Linked DNA regions of Homo sapiens: region 1 is linked to region 2. The links are contacts of gene promoters, found by promoter capture Hi-C in blood cells and fetal thymus (Javierre and others, 2016). All regions are on one chromosome and are shown on one strand. The core of a region is centred on a gene start or on the middle of the fragment in contact, and the rest is flanking DNA. Distances in the headings are between cores, read along the strand shown.

Region 1 (3,716 bases), core at 218-2,717, 510 kb before region 2:
GGGATTTACAGAGCAAACGTGCATGAAATACAACGGATTCAGATAAACATGGAAGGGTCTCACACTTTCATCGGTTTAAAAATGCACCTTACTGTGTAGGAGGAGAAATTCACTAGGTAACAAACAAAGCACTGAGAAGCAATTGTTTCTCTGCTACTCTGTCTCACTCACCTCTTGCTGGAGAGAGGAAAACTACTTGCAAGGAATCAGCCACAGAATGAGTGGGAAGGACGGGCCAAGGATGGAAGCTGGAGCTACAAGGCACTTTTAAAGAAAAGCCAGGACAGCAGGAGGTATTGGGCAGGGGAGAGGCGGGCAGCACTGTTTCACCACCATTCAAGACCAGAAAAGACCATTTGGGATGAACTGAGGCTCAGCGGCGGACTGACCTCACTATCACAGGGCTCCAAGTGCTAGCGGGCGAGACCTTGTGCCTTCCACATCCCACTTACACAGCAAGGGCTTTGCTAACCAACAGGATTTAGCAACTGATGCAAATAAAAAAAAAATAAGTAAAGATCTTTGATGTGGAGATTTTAACATCCTCTCCATTCGTGTATCTGTTCTTATTTTTCTCAGATGCTTAAGAAAACCAAGGGGATAAAAAAAAGCTAAAACTAGAAAAAGGATAGAAACAACTTCTCTCTTTGTCCAAGTAAATCAAAGCTTTGTTTGGAAGACTCAACTGTCCGTTCCTTGCCTTGTTATTTCTAACACAGAGCTTCCCGACTTTCTACAGTACAAAGCCATTCTGTCCTCATCTGGAGGGTGATGCTGGGGAGGTGAGGATAGGGGACAGATGAGAGTCCTTCTAGCTGGACAGAGCTGAGCGGATACCTGTAAGGAGTGTGTGTGTGTGTGTGTGTGTGTGTGTGTGTGTGTGTGTGTGTCCATGCACATGTTTGGTGAAAGGCAGTTGCTTTTTTTCTTCATGTTTCTAGAGCAAGAGAGCAATGAGAACTACATAGGGCAGATAGGTAAGGAAATCATTATAAGTAAAACAGGTTAAGCGTAAGCTCTGTGAATGGAGGAATTATGTGTGGGTTTTTCATTGCCATTGCCCACCATCTGCTGCAATGGGGCATGTGGTAGGCGTTCCATTAACATATTTTCAATTGGTCATGTGAAATAATAAGAGACACTAAGAATTCTGAGAATAGGGCTAAATCAAAGAGAATGCCCTCTGATATCTCCAATCAGCACCTCAAATACAGCCTGATTCAAACAGCCATTGTTGACCAGGTGCGGTGGCTTACGCCTTAGTTCCAGCACTTTGAGAGGCCGAGGTGGGTGGATCACTTGAGGTCAGGAGTTCGAGACCAGCCTGGCCAACATGGTGAAACCCACAAGAAACACAAAAAATTAGCTGGGCATGGTGGTGCACGCCTGTAACTTGGGAGGCTGATGCAGGAGAATCATTCGAACTCAGGATGCAGAGGTTGCAGTGAGCCGAGATCGCACCACTGCACTCCAGCCTGGGCAACAGAACAAGACTGTCTCAAAAATAAATAAATAAATAAATAACAGCTATTGTGATCACACCTGACTCTAAACCATTAGGAATGGTGTAGGGCAGGTTGTACTCTGCACACAGCCCACTTATTTTCACAGACCACCCTGGAAATGGAGCTAGGGATCTACAATTTTAAGTTTGATGTACTCCGAGCAAAGGCGTTTTGCAATATGTTCAGGACAATACATGGAGAGGTGATAAATACGTGAATCATCACGATAATCACACAGCATATATTAAACGCTATAGCAATATTTTGCATGTAGAATTCCGAAAGCTGCAAGATCAGTTACATAATACTTTCAAGCCTCTCTCCTTGTGATGCTGATTCTCCTTTTAACATGTTCTTTTAATGACTTCTGTCCACTCCTTTTTCAACTTAGTGGTTCCCCGAAATAGCCACTTTGATACATGTAATTCTCCAAACCGTTTCCAAATACTAGAGAAGAAAGCACGAAGGCATTGTAACTGCTAAATAAATTAATCCTTAAAGTAACAGAAATAAAATAATAATTGATATGGACATATGATTAGAATTCCAGTACCAGGCTAAAGTTAAGTATATTCCCATTAAGGATGGGGTTTACCAGTTTCCTCTACTTACACGTTCATTTCCTGCACATTCTCAGCTGCAAAATAAAAGGTCTTGATCTGTGGATGGCTGATCTTAAAAGCACTTGAAGGAGGAAAAGCACAAACACATAAAAAATTAGTGTTTATAGTCAACAATGGGTCTGAAAGTAAATCAGTAAAATACAAGCTTTGTAAACTTGTCTGCTTTCTTTGTAAATTTACAAAAAATAATTTAGTAATATTAGATACCTATTGTCTAGTCTCTGTTTCATATAGAGAACTAAGAGTCAATTTTTTATGTCAGAACGTCCAGAACAGGGCTGAGTCTTAGCTGGTCAGTAGTTTCCATTTAAAACATATAGGTATGGCCGGGCACGGTGGCTCACGCCTGTAATCCTAGCACTTTGGGAGGCCGAGGCGGGCAGATCACGAGGTCAGGAGATCGAGACCATCCTGGCTAACATGGTGAAACCCCGTCTCTACTAAATATACAAAAAAATTAGCCGGGCATGGTGGCGGGCACCTCTAGTCCCAGCTACCCGGGAGGCTGAGGCAGGAGAATGGCATGAACCTGGGAGGCAGAGCTTGCAGTGAGCCGAGATCATGCCACTGCACTCCAGTCTGGGTGACAGAGGAAGACTCCGTCTCAAAAAACAAATAAATAAATAAAAAATAAAACATATAGGTATATCCTCTTCCTTTCACTTGCTAACTGCTTTGCTATAAAGATACAATAAATTCAATTTTAAAGTGATAGAAATAACACTTCAAAATATTCAGAACAACTACTTCAAGCAAGGTATTTCTTCACTTTCAATCAAATATACAGAAGAATTTTTATAGGAGAATAATCAGGTATGGAACGTCCACTCTGCAGCAACACATCAGAAATCTTATTCAAGGCACCCTTTGTTAGTAAAGGGAAATATGAAATAGATTTTAATATAAAAGAAAAGCAGAAAACATTGAAGATAACAAATGAGAAGGGCTTCCACTTTACCCTTTAGGCAGGAAGTCCTGCAGCACGGCACAGGCCAGGGTTTTTGTAAATAGCCAATCCTTTTCAAACCACAAGAATCAGCACTGGACATGTGCAACCACACCACAGAGGCAAAGACTTAAAGCTAACACCAGTTTACTAACCTTGTTAAAAGAAAACTACTCAATTGCTGCAACTAGTCACATAGGACAAAAAGGAAGGCCCCTTTCTGATAAGACTGGAAAAGATGTCAAAGGTAGAAGAAATAATAAGAAAAAGGTGAAAATGGACACATACGCAAAATATAGCAGACTGCTATCATGGGAGGAGCACTTGAATGAGAGTCTATAGATACCTGGGTTTACAGCCAGCCCGCTCATGAGATCTAAGCAGGTCACAAACTCTTTGGGCTGTTTCCTTCTCAGGAAAACCAGGACCATGAGCTGGTAATTTTTTTTGGTCCCTGTCAGTGCTCAAATCTTTTGGATTTCAATTAGATCAGAGTGTAATCTCCAAGCTTAAGACATCTCAGAAAATTCAATTCCAAGTGTGCATCTGACAACTCCATGAACTAAGAAAGAAAAGCTGGTCTTGCTGGCGTATCTGCAACTCGGGTGAGTCCTATTTAACTGCTTGTTTTTTCTTTAGTAG
Region 2 (4,094 bases), core at 1,479-3,978:
TAGTCCTAGCTACTTGGGAGGTTAAGGCAGGAGAATCGCTTGAACCCGGAAGGCGGAGGTTGCGGTGAGCCGAGATCGCGTCATTGCACTCCAGCCTGGGCGACAAGAGCAAAACTCAGTCTCAAAAAATAAATAAATAAAAAATAAAAGCCGGGCGCGGCTATAATCCCAGCACTTTGGGAGGCCAAGGCAAGCGGATCACAAGGTCAGGAGATCAAGACCATCCTGGCCAACATGGTGAAACCCCATCTCTACTAAAAATACAAAAATTAGCTGGGTGTGGTGGCACGTGCCTGTAATCCCCGCTACTCAGGAGGCTGAGGCACGAGAATCGCTTGAACCCAGAAGGTGGAGGTTGCAGTGAGCCGAGATCGTGCCACTGCACTCCAGCCTGGCTACAGAGCGAGACTCCGTCCAGCCCCGCCCCAACACCCCGCAAAAAAAAAGATTGTGTTTAGGCTGCTCTCTGTATCTTCCCCCTCTGCTTACCCTGATCAAACTATGCCCTCTGTTACCATTCTGAATGCGGAAGCTTTATTAAATCAAATTGTGAAGCATGTTAACCACTGATTTTATCCTTTAGCTTGTATTGCATTTTAATTTCTCAGGCCTAAGTAATTCCATCAACACTCATTTCATGTATGACCTAATAAATAATCCCTCACAGGCCAAAGCAGCGCCTTTTTTTTCCGTTCTTTTCTTTTTTGTTTCTCTTTTTGAGACAGAGCTTCACTCTTGTTGCCCCGGCTGGAGTGCAGTCACGCGATCTCGGCACGCTGCAACCTCCGCCTCCCGGGTTCAAGCGAATCTCCTGCCTCGGCCTCCCGAGTAGCTGGGACTACAAGGGCGTGCCACCACGCCTGGCTACTTTTTTTGTATTTTTAGTACAGACGGGATTTCACCATGTTGGCCAGGCTGGTCTCGAACTCCTAACCTCAGGTGATCCACCCGCCTCGGTCTCCCAAAGTGCTCGGATTACAGGCGAGAGCCACCACACCCGGCCTCAAAGCAGTGACTTCTGATTGTGAGAACCTGGCATGCACAGAACTGAGTGCAGTACTTTCTCAAGCCACAGTAAATGCTCCTTTAGATGGAGTGATTAGGGGACCTCTTTCAGGAAGATTGAAGGAGGAGGAGTCAGCTATGGAAAGGACAAGAGCAACAGCACCCTGTGTGAAGAGACACAATTGTCCTACCTATGAAAACACTGCTTCTTGTCAAGTAACAGAAAGGCCAGTGTGGCAGGAGGAGAGTCAGGGAGCAAGGGAAGGTGGTGTGAGCTGCGGCAGGCTGGGCTGGGCCTTCAGGCCATGGTGAGAAGTTATGATGGTATCAAATGGGCAATGAGAAAGTATTTAAGGGATTTAAGTAAGGGAGTGACCTGATCTGATTTATCTAAGAAAAACATCCCTCGGCTACTGTCTGGAAATGAACTGTAGGAAGACAAGCAAGGGACCAGTTAGGAGGCTACTGCAAGTGTCAGTAAAAGATCATGGCTAGGCCTGAAGATGGGAGACGGTGGAGAAATCTGTGACAGAATTTGAGATTTTGAAAGTAAATATAAAAGCACTTGGTGAGTTATCCCTGTTACCTTCTCAGTAGCCAGGCCCTATACTAAAGCTGCCAATGAAGTAGAATGAAGGCTCTGAAACCTCAAGAAGGGCCTTACTTTCCCAGTTTCACGGGGCTCTGCGCACAGCTCTTAGGAACTACCTTGATTCCAAAACTCTCCAAAAGTACGATCCTGCCCTTATGTTCCTCTCTCCCTTTGAGTGAATTTGGGAATGATTGTTGAAAAATGACTTTCAACAAGAGGACAGCAGTGTTCGGGGTTCCACGATACATCCCTATCTTTTAACATCGATAAGTATTTTTAAATTGGTACCTTATTTTGCGCTGCACGAGAGAGAAGGCTTTTTACTAGCAGCATCTCCTAATCCATCTAAGAAATACTGTATTTACCTTTACTCCAAGTATCCTAGGGCAAAATTCCTTTAGAACAATTCATCTTCCGAAACAGACGGGTTCCCTTTTCACCTATTCAAGTGTTGTGCATTCTAGGGTCCCCTTCCCGCCTTGCAGACAAATGCGCTCATTGTGCCACTCCAGTCCCTGGATCCTATGCAGCGGGCATTTCCTGCAAGGAGCTGCTGCATGCCTGTTTCCCTCGCCGCCTGCCCCAACCCGAATCCAAGGCTTTGGTTTCTAATGTTCCCTCCCTGTGCAGTTAAAACAATTGAGTTCAGTTACTAAATAGATGACCAGGAACTTTTTCTTGGCGAAGGCTGCGGATGTTTAGGGCACTGTCCAGTAAAGTTGTGAAAAGCAACTAAACCCTGCCGCTTGTGCAAAAGGACCAATCCACCGGGAAACAAGGGAAACGCGCACATTTCCTCAACTTGCCGCTTCTTGGGCACGTTTAGGCTCTTATTAGAGCCGCGCTTTGGAGTTGCCTCCTCCTGCTGTACAAACCCGCCGCGGCGTTCCCCCGGATGCCGCAGCGCTCACTCCCGCGTCCGCGGGGCGCGGGGAGGGGGCGAGGCGCGGGCGGCCCCGGAGCCAAGGCGAGGGCAGCGGAGCCCAGCCGGGCCTACGGGCGGCGACGCTCTGGCCCCAGCGCGCTCGATGGTTTCCGCGCGGCCGCCGGGGCTCGCACGGTCCAGTCGCCAGGGGGCGCGCTAGCCGGCGCCGCGGATCCCCGAACTGCGCGGCCCGACTCGAGTCCGCCATATTGGATGCCGCAGCCGCTGCTGCCAGCGCTTCCTCCTCTGTCTTCGCCGAGCGGGGCTGGTTCCTGCGGCCCGAGCGGCGGGGAGGTGAAACAGGAGCCCGTCGGAGGAAGGGGCAGAAGGGAGTGGAGAGTGTAGGGGAAGGGGCTAGAGGGAGGGGGACCGAAACGGAGCGGGGCAGAGAAGAGAAGGCGCCGCGGCCCAGCCCCTCCCCCGCCCGCCGCCGACCCGCCCCGGCAGCGCCTCTGTTCCCTAGAACGGCGCTCCCCCCGCCCTAGCGGCCATGCCGGTGCCGCTCTGCCGCTGAGGGAGCCCTTCCCCGCCAGCGCGTGCCCTTCCACTCCGCCCCGAGGTCGCAGCGGCCCGCTCTCCCGCCAGCGCCCCCTCCTCGCGGCCACGCAGCAGCCCGCGTCTCGCTCTCCCCACCCAGTGCAGTGGCCGCCGCCTCTTCCGCCGCCGGGCTCGGGGCCTCCGCAGCGACAACATGGAGGCCGTGAAGACCTTCAATAGCGAGGTTGGTATGGCAGCCGGGTTCCCCTGCTCCTGCCCGCACCGCCCCCACCCCTGGTCGAGGCCGGGGCCCGGAGGGTGGGCGCGGGCCTGCGGGTTTTTTAAGGGTGGGGTGAGCGGTGGCCTAGCAGTGCCCGTGGGGGAGGGGTGTTTCTCCTCTGGGTGCCCCTCCCCCGGGTCCGGGAGGAGGGTTGGGGGAGGGCCGCCCTGGGGCGGAGGGAGGTTCTGGCGTCTCCGGCGTCCTATGGAATGGCTGCGAGCTCGGAGGGAAAGACCCGGTTGGGCCCTCACCCGGAGACTCCCGACAGGTCCCTCGAGGTCAGTTCCGCCGAGGCCTGGCCCGCCCACCTCCTTCCTGGGCCTTTGAGGATTTAAGTGGACGCTGGACATGACTCTCCAGACCTTCCCGGGTCCTCACTGAGGCTAACACCGATTGGGGGCGGTGGGGGAAATGAACCTACGGGGTGTTGATCTGTGGTCACGTTACACGTAGTGTTTATAATTGAGGCATTGTTGACTAGGTAATTTGCCAGCTAGGGACTTGAGCTAATTGGATGGTTGGTAGGCAGGCAAAGGTTATTCTGCAATATCTTTTATTTTTACTCGCTCCTCTTCTAATCCATCACGACATAAAGACAAATGGTAGGGAGAGATCTGTGCATCGAGAGATGGAAGATTATGGGGGAAACATTTCTCGCTGGTTCATTCACGTGTCAAACAAGATTTTAAAAAGCAGATTCCATTTTCACTGTGTAGTTGAATTTACTAGTCTGGAAGAAGACAGGTTTTGATGTATTCAATTTCTTTTTAAACTCCGACTTCAATAGGCCTTAATGTAAACATCAAACATAGCAA

What was found. The method cuts DNA at HindIII sites, captures the fragments that hold promoters and counts their contacts. A CHiCAGO score of 5 or more calls a contact.
Region 1: a fragment that was not itself captured here is called in contact with the fragment with the promoter of SCAF8 in region 2 in 4 of 17 cell types (total CD4 T cells, neutrophils, naive CD8 T cells and 1 more); the score reaches 8.8 in total CD4 T cells.

What each region holds. Positions count from the first base shown.
Region 1 is chr6:154,219,140-154,222,855 of GRCh38, forward strand. It overlaps IPCEF1 (interaction protein for cytohesin exchange factors 1), which reads right to left. Exons shown (of 12, transcript NM_001130700.2): 7 at 2,118-2,189. It also overlaps a transcript of OPRM1 not described here. Among named protein-coding and RNA genes, the nearest start is that of IPCEF1, 140 kb to the right of the region's middle. The HindIII fragment of the contact is 1,607 bases long and covers 665-2,271 here.
Region 2 is chr6:154,730,688-154,734,781 of GRCh38, forward strand. SCAF8 (SR-related CTD associated factor 8) reads left to right here and starts at 2,729. Exons shown (of 20, transcript NM_014892.5): 1 at 2,729-3,243. The coding sequence starts at 3,214. RefSeq lists silencers at 2,362-2,601, 2,632-2,751, 2,902-3,501 and an enhancer at 2,762-3,265. The HindIII fragment of the contact is 14,602 bases long and covers 531-4,094 here.